3 separate regions of the Homo sapiens genome follow, and regions 2 and 3 are each linked to region 1. The links are contacts of gene promoters, found by promoter capture Hi-C in blood cells and fetal thymus (Javierre and others, 2016). All regions are on one chromosome and are shown on one strand. Each heading gives the region's core, a stretch centred on a gene start or on the middle of the fragment in contact. The rest is flanking DNA. Distances are from core to core; before and after follow the strand shown. Region 1 holds the start of RBMS2 (RNA binding motif single stranded interacting protein 2). Region 2 overlaps NEMP1 (nuclear envelope integral membrane protein 1). Region 3 holds the start of DNAJC14 (DnaJ heat shock protein family (Hsp40) member C14).

The links. Contacts are between HindIII fragments. The CHiCAGO score rates a contact against its expected background, and 5 or more counts as called.
Region 2: a contact is called between a fragment that was not itself captured here and the fragment with the promoter of RBMS2 in region 1, in 1 of 17 cell types (total B cells). The highest score is 5.3, in total B cells.
Region 3: the fragment with the promoter of DNAJC14 here is called in contact with the fragment with the promoter of RBMS2 in region 1 in 1 of 17 cell types (naive CD8 T cells); the score reaches 5.6 in naive CD8 T cells.

What each region holds. Positions count from the first base shown.
Region 1 is chr12:56,519,558-56,524,091 of GRCh38, forward strand. It overlaps RBMS2 (RNA binding motif single stranded interacting protein 2), which reads left to right and starts at 2,263. Exons shown (of 14, transcript NM_002898.4): 1 at 2,263-2,532. The coding sequence starts at 2,467. RefSeq lists an enhancer at 2,698-3,441. The HindIII fragment of the contact is 765 bases long and covers 2,010-2,774 here.
Region 2 is chr12:57,056,538-57,061,398 of GRCh38, forward strand. NEMP1 (nuclear envelope integral membrane protein 1) reads right to left here. Exons shown (of 9, transcript NM_001130963.2): 8 at 4,235-4,408; 9 at 1-3,522. The coding sequence ends at 3,342. Among named protein-coding and RNA genes, the nearest start is that of MYO1A, 8.8 kb to the left of the region's middle. The HindIII fragment of the contact is 1,220 bases long and covers 2,676-3,895 here.
Region 3 is chr12:55,826,964-55,831,399 of GRCh38, forward strand. DNAJC14 (DnaJ heat shock protein family (Hsp40) member C14) reads right to left here and starts at 2,624. Exons shown (of 7, transcript NM_032364.6): 1 at 2,526-2,624; 2 at 289-1,751. The coding sequence starts at 1,695. It also overlaps the pseudogene TMEM198B. RefSeq lists a silencer at 2,562-2,671 and enhancers at 3,200-3,937, 3,892-4,091. The HindIII fragment of the contact is 16,581 bases long and covers 1-4,436 here.

The sequences.
Region 1 (4,534 bases), core at 1,013-3,512:
CAGAGGTTTCAGTGAGCCAAGATTGCACCACTGCACTCCAGCCTGGCGACAGAGTGAGACTCTGTCTCAGGGGGAAAAAAAAAAAGTAGAAAGAAAAATTAGACTTAAAAAAAAAGTTAAATTGGGTTGATTGCCTTTATGAATCAGGCCTTCAAGAGAAAGGTTTCTGTACCACATTGTTAGGGTAAAGGAGAAGATATCATCCAAGGGCCTAAACAGCAAGGATAAATTGGTTAATGAGAGTCTCTGAGAGCAGAAAAAGGACTTAAAAAAATATATATATATATATATATGGGCCGGGCGCGGTGGCTCACTCCTGTAATCCCAGCACTTTGGGAGGCCAAGGCGGGCAGATCACCTGAGGTCGGGAGTTTGAGACCAGTCTGGCCAACAAGACTACTAAAAATACAAAAAAATTAGCCGGGCATGGTGGCGCATGCCTATAGTCTCAGCTACTCGGGAGGCTGAGGCAGGAGAATCGCTTGAACCCGGGACGCAGAGGTTGCGGTGAGCCAAGATAGCACCACTGCACTCTAGCCTGGGCAACAGAGCAAGACTCTGTCTCAGAAAAAAAAAAAGATATCACTGAGTGATGCCTTCATTTATTTATTTACTGCATTTGGCTGCTGTGTTTCCAGTCTCAGTTGCAATTCCCACACTGAGGCTCTCCCACCCTTCCTGTGTCCCCTGAGCTGAGCAGGCACTTCCTGTCCTATTGGAAATGAAAGTTAGAGATTGGGGGTAGGGTATGTATATTTACTCTGCAGAATACTAATACTGTCTGTTCCATTATCATAGCAAAAAAGTGACACGGAAACTAGAATAGAGACCAGAACTTCATTTGAGGGAGGGTTTGGGCTTAATATTTGTTGTCACAAAACAGACAGGGTTAATTTATATCTCAAGAAACTACTTAGGATGGCAGCAAGGTGGCCTTATGAAGGGATTTGAAGGCTTTCATTTAACATCCCTATTGCACTTGGATTGGTAGGGGTTACTGGATATCATTCTTAAGTTTTTGGTTTCCTTTCTTGTTAAGGTTACGCCTACAAAGACATTCTTTGGAAACTAGTAGAGGTAAGTGTTGCAACTCTATTAGGTTCTTGACTCTGAAATTTGTATTCCTTCCTAAGAATTTTGTGTTTTTATTCTGTTGAAGCATATGCTTCTTAAGTATTTTTTTTTTTTAAACAGCTCAAAGACAACTCAAAGCAGACATCCCAACTGTAGACTTCAATTTAGACATAAACTCCAGGTTTGGTGAGTTACTGTAATTGTTTCAGTTTCATGGATCTTAAAGATGAGGAAATAGCAGGGTAAAGTGTTAAATAAGATAGCCTGCAATTGTTAGAGAAATAACAAGGCACCAAGTTTCATGATATAGTCCAGTCTGATAATTCCTTCTTAAGTATGAACTCATTCCTCGGAGAATCTGAAATAGGAGTGAGGGGCATCAGCCCATTGGTATGACCCAAGAGAAACACATCTAAGGATCTGAAACTAGTTATACCCCATACTCTGTTTTGCTTAGCTCTGCTCTTTGGTGTGTTCCTCTGTTTGTTCCTTTGTACATTAAGATCACTATAAATGGGCCAGGGGTGGTGGCTCATGCCTGTAATCCCAGCACTTTGGGAGGTTGAGTGGGTGGATCACTTGAGGTCAGGAGTTCGAGACCAGCCTGGCCAAGATGGCGAAACCCCGTCCCTACTAAAAAATACAAAAATCAGCTGGGTGTGGTGGTGGTCACCTGTAATCCCAGCTACTCGAGAGGCTGAGGCAGGAGAATTGCGGAAGGTGGAGGTTGCAGTGAGCCGGATCCGGGATTGCACCACTGCACTTCAGCCTGGGTGACAGACTAAAACTCTGTCTCAAAAAAAAAAAAAAAAAATCACTGTAAGTGTAAAGTAGGGGAAGCCCTGAGCTTATCTCACACACTCTAACTCTGTTTTTTTTTTTTTTTTTTTTTGCGTGTTCTCCAAGGCAATGTCTCAGGAGCCCCTTTAAAATCAAGCTTGAAATCTTATAGCTGAGATCTAAGGGTGGAAATAAAGCCCTCATTGTCTTTATATGAGAATCGGAACTTGTTCATAGAGGAAAGGGGATAAATTTGAAAGGGGTTAGACCTAAGAACTCTTCTTTCTAGCTTTAACTCCTGAGACTATGAAAAACAAACAAAAAAAAACATCTTGGGCATTAGGACCCAGTGGAAGTGCCTCTGCCTCATTCAGACTCTGTTAACTTCTCTCAGTGACGTAAAGGAGCAGCCCGAGCTCATTCTCTGCCCGCAGCCCCCCTTCATCTCTCTCCTCCTGCTCCTTTTCTCCTCCTTTCTCCTCCCCCTCCCTTTTTTCCTCCCTCCCTCTCCCCCTTTCCCTCGCTCCCCTCCTCCCTCCCTCCCCGTCTTTCTTACCCCCTCCCTTTCTCTCTCTCTCTCTCTCTCGCTCGTTCCCTAACATTAAAGAGAAAATGCTGCTATCCGTGACTTCCAGGCCCGGGATTTCGACTTTTGGCTACAATAGAAACAACAAGAAGGTAGGGAAAAGCGCTTTTTTGGTATCTAGCTACTTCTTTTTCTGGGGATCTTGCAATGCCCTTGGTTTTTACATTCTTTTTAAAGAGGGGAAGGGGCTTCCTCTCTCAAGATTCCTAATTCCTCACCGCGCTTCTCCCTTTTCCACTACTGCTTTCTGCATCTTTCCTCAACTGGTTCTGGAGTTCAGGGAACTTTCAGTCTCTGCGAGGCCTGAAAAGACAGGGGAATTAAAAACAAATCAAGCTTGCAAGTTTGTATCCTTATGAAATGAAGTTAGTTTGACTTCCTGCTGATGTATCAATCTCCACAAGGATAATATGTCATTTCAGACCCTGTCCCCCAGTCCACCCCACCCCACAAGATTATTTTATTTTTTGATTAACTGTTTCCATTCTCTCCCCAACCTTCCCTCCTACCCATACCACCAGTAGTATTAGATAGCTGAAATCATAGATAGTCAGAGAAACCACAACAGTTTATCAAGAGCTGGGTATACTCTTCTAGACTACAGATCCTACCCCACCCAGCCTATAGAGAAGGAGTCTTGAGAGACATCGCACCTTGGGATTAAGGCACAGAGCGCTGTGATACTTTGGATCTTGTATTTGAACTGATACTTGGACCTCTGCAGATAGCCAGACTTTGCAGTGATCCTAGGAGTCTTTATGATTAACCCATGGCTGCCAGAGAATTGTGCTGTCCTTGGGCACATGGGGAGAGATGGACAATCTTGTCCATATTTGACAAGGAATATATTTGGCAGTTTCTGGCATTTCAGGGCGCACAGCATACTGATTAGGAGGAATTTCATGCTGTAGCAGGAAGAAGACTCTTTACCCTCTCTTTGTGTTGTAGCTGTTCTTTGAAGAAAAAATGTGACATAGACATTTAGGGAATCTTTTGCTCATCTAATGGAATGTTGGAGGGTGAGGAACGATTCCTGCTGCTTTCTCATGTACCTAATGAGACCATTAGAGGTGGATTTAAACACAAGTGTCTGATCAATGCAGTGGGTAAATGTTTAGACCCAAAACACTTAATGTTGATTTATGGGCTTAGTCTGTGTGGTACTCATTTTGTTTATATCCTGAAGAAATATGGGTAGAGGGGAGAGGAAATGGGGAGCTATAGGTCAGAGGATACAAAGTAGTAGATATGTAGGATGAACAAATCCTGAGATCCAATGTACAACATGAGGACTATAGATGATAAAGTTGTACTGTATATGGGATTCATGCTAAATGAGCAGACTTTAGCTCCTCTTGCCACAAAAAGAAACAAAAGGGACAATTATGTGGGATGATTAATTTACTTCACTATAGTAACCTTTCTACTATCTATATGTATCCCGTAACATGTTGTATACCTTAAATATACACAATAAAATTTACTTTAAAAAAGAAATGAGGCTGGGCATGGTGGCTTATGCCTGTAATCCCAGCACTTGGGAGGCCAAGGTGGGTGGATCACTTGAGGTCAGGAGTTCGAGACCAGCCTGGTCAACATGGTGAAACCCCAAATTAGCTGGGCTTGGTGGCACGCGCCTGTAATCCCAGCTACTCAGGAGGCTGAAGCAGGAGAATCACTTGAACCTGGGGGACAGAGGTTGCAATGAGCCAGGATTGTGCCACTGCACTCCAGCCTGGGTGACAGAGCAAGACTCCATCTCAAAAAGAAATGAAATATGAGTTTATACACATTTGTTGGTTATCAATATATGTTTATATGTACATATACTGACATCCCTTTATCAAATATATGTATAGATAATACATTATATATTATACGTATATATTTGAAAGGGAAATATTTCACATGTCTTTATTCTTTTCAAACCTTGTAGAGTACCATGTGAAAATTTCTTTCCTGATTTTTTTCCCTCCTAGTTCTCTCAGGTTACCCAGAACTCATTAAAATAAAATGAATTCCCAAAATGAATTGCTTCCCTATTAGAGGTTTCACGTATTTGAAGCTATCTAAAAATCTCTTTTTGCTCTCTGC
Region 2 (4,861 bases), core at 2,036-4,535, 540 kb after region 1:
CTTGAGTCCAGAGAATACTAGAAGGACATTTAATTTCCTTTCCTCCTCCTTCCTTTCACTACTCAATTCAAAGAAAAGTTATGAGTACACAGCTAGGAACCATTTTTACGTAGGCATCCATCTGAGCCCATCTTGTTTTTTTTTTCTAAAACAACAAAAAGACTAAGGACAATTACATAATGCATTCCCAAGCCTTTTATGGATATCAGGGCCTGGGGGGACTATCTGGCCTATTTGGGTTCTTTCATTCACCAAAATTCTATTATACATGCCAAGGGTTAAAGGGAACACCATCAGTCAAGAGACGGCTGGGCCCTAGAATGGAATCTATTAGCATAAAATGGAACAGTGGGACCCAAAGAGCTATCAGCAAAATTCCCTTTGTAACAGACGTAAAAATCATGAATTTGAGGGGAAAAATAAACTAGTTTTGGTGGGATGCAGTGGCTAACAGGAATTACTTATTAGAAGGTAATGAAGTTGCTAAATTTTCCTTGTTTTTGATCCCTGTGTTCTGTTGGTCTCTTGAAGCAATCTGAGTGGGAAAGGAAAGTGAAAGAAATGTTTTATGCCAGCTGCCTCTTGTATTCCCATTAATGGGAGTCTCTACATTAATGCTCTACATAATTTGGTCAGACTGATGAGAGGCAATAGATTTCCAATGCTGATGAGATCCAGAGCCCTGGAGCCCATTTATGGCTTGACATTCACCCAGCAAGACGCTGACGTGGCAGCAAACACGGCTCCAATGTCCAGCTTACCTCATAGTTATCCCTTCAATCCTTCTTGATGAGATTGGTCTGAGAGATGAGACTGTACTGAAATCACAAGAGCTATAACTGCCAGAGAAAAATTAAATGGGGTCTTCAAGTAGTGACTGAGCCAGCAAACTAAGTGGCCAAGAGGGAGACAAGAGCAGCTCCTAAAGAAGGTTGAAGTCAAGCAATCTCCGGAACACAGAGGATCTGAAGCATCTGGGCAGAGCCACAGGCAGGCAGGGCAAGGACACACAGCACACCAGAGCAGCACCGTCCTTCACTGTGTGAGAGCAACTCTCAGGCTGCAGAACCAATTGCCATCTCCACTGCCTACAGCTCAGGTCTCCAACTACCAGATAGGGAGTAAAAAACAGTTTGATTTTATTCACCTCAAGTCTAAACACGGTGGAAAAAAAACTGGTCTAGAGATGGAAACTATATTTCATGGGGGTTTATTAAACAGAGAAAGAGGAGAATCTTTCACAATTTCACAGTGCTTTCTCATTGAAATAAAGACATGATCAGGAAAAGTCACCCTTATAGGCAAGCTATCACCTCCCTAAGTAGGGGAGGCACCAAAATCTCCAGAGAATCCTGAGACCACTTGCACGAGTTGAATTATTTTTTAAAATAAACTTATGCTTAAATATGCTAGGTCTCAATTTCTATAAATAAGGTAAAAAATAGTATATTTCAGAAGTTTTAATAGTTCTTTGTAGAGAGAGAACATTTTACCATGTACATAATTCACAAGGGTATAAAGGTTTCCCAATGTAAAGTTCCTTTTACCCTTCAACTGTAACCCATAGCATCTGCCCAAATACTGCTCATTTTTCACTTTCTACTATATGTCTCTTTCCTGCCAACTGAGGTAGTTGTCACTTAGGACAGTTTAAGGCTCTGGAAAACACTGGTGGAAATAATCAACTGCCCACCTGGAGGGCAGTCTCAGAGCTGACCCTTTGGAAGTCTGCAATGGAGCTAGGCCTTTCAAAATTACCACGCTAAATGGCTGGTCTAAAGGAGTCATTACGGCTTTTTAAAAAATCATCTGCCTTTTTCCATCATCTTGGTGAGCCAGTAAGTCTGGTGCTGTGCGCTTGCCATGACCATCTATCTTCCTGGCTAAGGTAATTACAGACTTTTCCAGGGTATAAGGGTGAAGACCACAAAGAAAAAGAACCAAGTAAATGACAGACACTTGAGAATTTGCTTCCTCACAGATGACATTGCTGGTTTATAAGGGGTACTTTGCAATGGCAAAAGAATCTGAAACTAATGCTACTGCAATAACAGGCAGCATACATCTCAGGTCAGAAACGCAATCATAAATAAGTGTAAGTTCATGGAAACTTGACAGCTGAATGAGCACCCAGAGGCATGAAGATAACCTGGAGCCTATTTCCTGGCAATGCAAATTGTGGCTGCTGCATAACTACAAATTGTGTATCAAGAAACTACATAGTTTCAAGGCTTAAAAATTACCCAGATTTGGGGGAGTATGGGTGGTGAGAAAAGGCTGAAAGGAATGGACAGAGCATGTAGACAAAGGAAGGGAAAGGAAAAGGAGACAGTTTCCTGATTTCATAGCAACTCAAAGATAACATGACCCAATGACAGGAAAATGGAGAACGTATAAAAAGCATCCAAATCCCCTAAACAAGATGACTTCTCCTAGCTAGCAGGAATAATGCTACTCTGAACATACATAGTTCACAGGTAAGGGAACTGACCCTTCCTGAAAGGGCAAAGGCAGGGTAAGGAAGAATGGGAAGAGAAGAATACAAATGTTTTTTAAGATGGAATTGAAAGTTGAATATAATAAAAAGCCCAGTACATCTCACCTGCAGAAGAGCCTACAGGCATGTTCCTAAAGGCAAATAGGACTTTCTATCATATGTATGAGAACTAAATCAAAGCTTAAAACAACAGCTCCTGGGGCTTTAATGGATAATCCATATTAATAAATATGTAGGGGCCTAGGGGGTGTGTCACTCTGGAGCACTTGCTGGTTCTGGAACATGAGTTTGTTATGTTTTTTAAAAGACATTCATTTAAAAAACAAAACAATAAAAATCTATTTTCCTCCCAAAACAGTTAAATCAATAATTATTCTAAAGTCACTGAAATAAAAGCTGGAGTGAAGGAGGCTCAGATTTGTGGATTTCTCTCTGGAAGTTGCAGCCTATAGTCTAAAAGCATTCCTGCACTTAACAACAGTTCTTACTTTGGAGAGCCAGCCAGTGACAGAAATGCCATGATTGAATCAACTTTCAAGAAGGAGCTAGAATGCCATGCTAGCTGTGGCCATCCAATTTCTCTGGAAACATAAAAGTGGGCTGTTAGCTTAACCAATGGGAAGTGAACTACCCAGCATTCACTACTTTATCCACTCTCCTTCCTCAGGGATCCCATAGAGACCTCCCATTTCCAAAGGGAGGCCTTTTTAGGCCTCTTATTTCAGTAGGAGAATTTCTACCCTATCTATCTCACTCTGTTTCAAAGGGTTGAAAGCAATTGCACAACACATGCAACATGGACCAAGGCACCAAGCCAGTCCACGTAAAGATAACTGACCACTACCTAGGTTAGAAAGTTGTTCTGTGTGATAGCAGGACACCGAGAATATGAGTCCTCCTCCTCAGAGGATGCTTCCTCATAGATTTCATCCTGGGCAATAATGCTCCCTAATCCATACTCCTGCTCATGGACAGAAACTTCATTTGGCGTGAGGTGGGAAGAGCCTTCCACAAAGTCAGCAAATCTGGAAAAGAGAAGATAATACTCGTTAGAAATATCCTTCTGTCCTTTCTGGTCTTCTTTCAAAATAAGAACAAATTAAAGCCCTCGATATGCTCGCAACTCAAATTATATTAAGTCTAGCCAACATCCTTGTCCTTACTCTGGCAGGTAAGTAGACTAAAGCATGAAGTTAAGGAGAAAAGGAAAGCTGGGATCATAGGCTAATACCCCTGCAACTCCATCCTGCTTAATAAGCACTTGCCTATCCTTTCTAATTATGAAAGTGCCAAGGTTCCTTTAGTCATCTGTAATCCTGATAAGAGAAGATTAAGGGGCATTACAGTTATTCACGTTTATGGCCCTGTAAACTTTATGCCATCATGATTCCAAATTGAAGCTTCACATACTCATTGGTACATTTGCCCCCAACTAAAAAGTGGGTAGGGGGGAACCCTACCAACTCAGACAGCAATGCAAAACTTTCAGAAGGGAAACTTAATATGGTACTGGAGTCTTCCCATCTTAATGCTACAATCAAAGCTAGAGTAGATAGTTCCCTGAGGAAACAGGTTACTGCTTAATGTGTGATTATATATCCACCCTTCTCTTGACTACTTGAAGATTAACAGGAAAACAAAGGTCACAAGTGCACGATTCTCTAGAAGTATGATCTCTGGTAGAACTCAAGGTCACAATTACCCTGATAGATGCTTGGTATATCTGGCCGAGTTTACCTTTTTGGAGACTGGATTCGAGAAACAGTCTTCCAAGCAGAGCAGTCTGGACTGTTACAAAATTCTCGGAGCTCCTCTAAAGCCTTTCGGGTTTCTACCTCTCCTTGTATCCGATATTCTTCTTCTGTCAGGAGACGAGGGGGAACAGGCTTTTCTGCTCCCTTACACACCTTTCTGTGCTCACCAAAATAACATTATGAATCATTAATCAGTAATCTATATCCATCCTTACTTCTAGCTCCCTTCAGTGGGCCAAGAATACAGCAGACAGCCTGAACATTAAGAGTCATCACTCCTAAAAATTCCATGGACATCTTTAGTTATAATGAACTCCTGATACATTAGACTATGAGTGACAATTCATAGGCGACAGAGCGAGACTCCATCTCAAAAAAAAAGTGATATAATTTGCACCACCTTGTGGTAACAGGAACACATGACATTTTACTAGACCTTTTTATTTTATATAAAATGACTAGAATAAAAATATAAAAATGCCTATAGAAAGTAAAAAATTATAGTCAATATTATTCACTAATGTGAACAAACTCACTTTATTTTCCAATAAATGATAAAATACTTACTTATTTTCTAGTAGATGGGAAAATAACAGAAAATCATGGTATA
Region 3 (4,436 bases), core at 1,374-3,873, 690 kb before region 1:
TGAATCATGAAGTCAGGAGTTCGAGACCAGCATGACCAACATGGTGAAACCCCATCTCTACTAAAAATACAAAAAAAATTAGCCGGGCATGGTGGCGCGCACCTGTAATCCCAGCTACTCAGGAGGCTGAGGCAGGAGAATCGCTTGAACCCAGGAGGCGGAGGTTGTAGTGAGCTGAGATTGTGCCACTGCACTCCAGCCTGGGTGACAGAGCGAGACTACATCTCAAAAAAAAAAAAAAAAAATATGGGAACAAAAGAGAGAAACAGGAAACAGAAGGGTACTCACCATCACTGCCAGCTGTCTATAGGCCTTCTTCAGTTCAACATCTGATGCTGTGGCCTCAACCCCCAGTACATGGAAAGGGTTTAGCTCATCCTCAGGAACCCCAGCCATGGTCAAGAGTCGAGCCACTTCCTCTTCAGGCTGGCAGTAGCGCCCACTAGCTACAGGTGCATTCCCCTGCCTATTAATATTCTGCTTGACCCAAGGCAACTCCAGCCAGCCCCACTGAACTATTCTTACCAGCCGCTGCCATGGCCTGCTATCTCTCAGCAGAGTCAAGCAACGCTGCAAGGCTGGAGAATCCAGCCAAGAGAAGAGCCAGGTAGCCTTATCCCTCCAGCCTAACCGGTCACCTAGTCCCACCAGAAACCGCCATCCCAACTGTAGAAAGCCCAAAAAGAGGGCCAGAGCCAGGAGCAGCAAAGCACCCAGCAGCTTAAGAAAACGAGTAAACAGTCCTACTCCACAGTAAAACCCCTGGCTTAGAAACTGAAACATGACCTGGGCCCAGCCCCCTAACCGCCCTGTCCACACTCCCATCCAAACTCGAAAAAGGTCCAAATCACTGCTTTTCAGTTGCCTGCAGGCATAGATGAGATGGCCACAAGTTTCTACGTACTCTCCCACCAATACCAGCAGTTCAATCAGCCACCAAAAGCCTGCCTGTCCAAGTTGACATAGTTCCTCGGCTCCCCACAATCCCAGGCCTTTGCGCTTATCTGCCTGACTTCGTTTCCGACCCAGCCGATGTCGACCAGGGGACCTGGGATCCCTACGTCCACCCTCCCGAGTATCCTCCTTCGTTGGAAAGCGGTGCCGCTGTCTCCGGGATGGGGGTTTCTTTCCGCTGGACACACGTGAAAAATCACTGGGGAACTTGAGAGATTCTTCATCATCATATTCCTCTTCCAACTCATCTTCCCCCAAAGCTGGAGAGGTACAGTGGTGGCAAAAGTTGCTAGAAGAACCATTTCCTCCCTCAGAGTAAGGCCCTTCTGGAATTCCAGGTGTTCCCTGGCAGTTGCAAGCAGATGGAATGGAAAGAAAAGAGTTCCCATCCTTCTGGTTCCCAGTCTCGTTTTCTTTTGAGAGTTCCTGGTCCACTCCTGATTCTTCTTCTGAAGACGTCTCACTCTGATCAGGGTCCTCTGCATCTCTAGGTGGTCCTGGACCCCCTGGGGGGCCATGGCTTGGGTCCAACCAATGGGCTGGGTTTGGGTGCTGTGTGTGCTTAGGACCAGAGTGCTCTGTGAGGCAGCGGGTACCATTAGGAGCAGTCCCTGCTGAGTCCCTGAGTCCTGAGAATGAAGGTATTTCAGGGTCCACGGAGGGTCCTAAAGTCCTGAGGGAGGCACCACCACTGTGGTGGGCTCCATACAACCCTCTTTCTCCGGGGTGCTTCTGGGCCATGACCCCGGGGCTTCCTGAGGGTCTTAGGTCACAGCCATCATGGTGTGTTCTGATGCCTGTAACAGATATCAAGGTGGAGACAGTCAAGGATGAGACCAAGAGAGGAATTAAACAATCTCAAATAGTGGACACATTTAATTCATCCACCTCCCTTGTTTTCCCAAGTTCTTTTGGGGCATTCGCTATTCCTAGCAATAAGCCAAAACTAGACTCACCACAACCCTGCTTGCTCCCTCCCCTCTCCTCCAAATCACTTAAGTTTTTCTTCTTTCCCCAGAAAACTATAACCTTCAATCAGGGAAACAGGGAGGTACCGTAAAGGGTGTGGTCGGGGGAGGGTGGGTCACTCTTAGGAAAATGGGAAAGACCGCCGGAAAGGGGGCCACAGACTTCCAGTAATGGGTGGGGGCCATGCGGCCCTGGAGGAAAATCTGGGGGCGGAGCTTAGGGCTGCCCCTAAGAAAGACTAACAGGGAACCCACCGGCTGTGTAGAAGGGACGAAGGTGGCCGGGCACCGTGGCTCACGCCTGTAATCCCAGCACTTTGGGAGGCCGAGGCCGGCGGATCACGAGGTCAGGAGTTCGAGACCAGCCTGGCCAACATGGTGAAACTCCGTCTCTACTAAAAATACAGAAATTCGCCAGGCGTGGTGGCGCGCACCTGTAGTCCCAGCTACTCGGGAGGCTGAGGCAGAAGAATCGCTTGAACCCGGGAGGTGGAGGTTGCAGTGAACCGAGATCGTGCCACTGTACTCCAGTCTGGGTGACAGAGCGAGACTCCATCTCAAAAAAACAAAAAAAAACGAAAAAAAAAAAAAAGACGGACGTACCGAAGAACGGCGGTAACTCCTCCCCCTCGAGCCGCCCGGCCTGGGGCCAGGGTGAGCTACGAGAGCCGCTCTCCCGGCTCCGCCTCCCGCTCACGCTCTGCTTCCGCCTTCCGTCCCCGCGGCCGCCGGCGACCTGGGCCTACTTCCACTTCCGGGGTCACCAGGGAAGAGACGGGAAGGAAAAGAAATAGCGGTTGGCTGAGAGGCAAGCCAATCCAGCTAGGGCTGCGTCGACTCCAAGGAGGCGGTCCTAAGGAAGTACTGGCCCCGCCATTTAAAGGCCCCTCCCTCCGCGTGTGGGAATGGGATTCCCGCAGGTTGCACCGCAGGAAGCAAGGCAGGTGGACTCTGCACCAATGCCTGCAGACTAAGGGCAGACTCTCAGGATTGCTCTGGGTGTATTCCTAGGCTTTGTATTCCTGGGAGATGGAGGGCAGCCACCGAGCCACATATAGTCTTTTTCCCTTGCAGACAAAACCAGGGAGCTCAGAAGAGTCACTGCCCTGATCCCTTCCGTGCCGGCAGCTGCGAGGACACAGGCCCCTTTGTATCCTGCGGTGCGGAGGTGGAGCAGAGGAGAGGGTGCCCCGGCTGGCCCCCTCCCTCGCCCCGCAGCACTGCCCCTCCTTTCACAGCAACCCACGGCCTCCCCCGCGCTTGACCCAGCTGGCGAGCTGCCCCTTATACCTGGATCCGCCCCTCGGGTCGCAGCTCCCCAGGCCCGATCACCGAGCGGTGCCTAGGAACTGGGAGCGTAACTTGGCTCGGCTCAGAACTTTGCCCGTGAGCCAAAGAACACTGAACTCATCTACCTGCTGCTTGACATCTCATCTGCATACCAAGCTATTTGGTGGACGTCCACAAGCGCCCCCGCCCCCACGTAGACCCAGTTGGGTCCCCGTTCCGTCGGTCCCCTCCTCTGCACACGCCTCTAGCCTTATACCCCGTCTTGATCCGAAAGTTTTTCCACCCATGAACCCCCAGTTGGCGCTCCCCGACCAGCAAAAGCCCCTTCCCTGGTCCACGATCCCGACCACCCGGTTCTCCAGGAGACAATACTCCAATTCTCTGGAAAGTGGAAGAAACCAAGCTGAAGCTAGGGGGGCGCTGGGACCCCTATTGGGGCTTTGAGAGCTTCCGGTTGTCATCTCCTAAGTATTCGGAGACCCTTCTCCAAAACTCTTGGGGTGACCCTCAAGACTCTTACCTGCTATATAGTTGGGGGTCTCTGGTCCTGGACTAGAGCAGTAGGCAACCTGGGTCCCCCCACACACACGGGAAAGAATTGGAGGGGCCTGCCTTGTGATGTCACCCCTCCTCCCCCCACCGCGCGCACGCGCGCGCGCACACACACAAACACAAACACACACCCCAACACACACGCCCTGTCCCCTTTCTCCACCCTGCAAGCTAGTTGCATTTAGCTCACAGAGCCTGGGCTGCGACTTGAAAGAGTTTAGGCAGCAACAGAGTGACCCTGGGGGTGCTCTTGACCGACAGCCGCACCCCCGGCGTCTAGGACCTCCGAGCAGGGATGCATCTGGAGGTCTAGGGAAGCACTTCCACCCCCTCCTCTCCTCAATCCTGGCAGGATGGTGAGTAGTTAACATCCCCTCCCCAACCCCCGCTTGTCCAGGGTCCCCAGACTTCCAAGCAGATTGAGGAGAGGAGCTCCGAGAGTCAACCCTCCAGCCTGTAAGGACCTTGATATCCAAAGGACAGCTGAAGAAAGTAATGTGCCTGCATTTTTGCCACTTCATTCCCACAGTGCCCGAAATGCCAGCTCCTCCTTGGTGTTCTCCTTTCAGGATTTGAATTCAAATCCCATTGGCAGCCCTGATACCGCTGGGGGAAGGGTGAGGTAGGAAAAGTCCCACCAATATCCTAAGGGGAGGTGCGAGTGGCTACCAG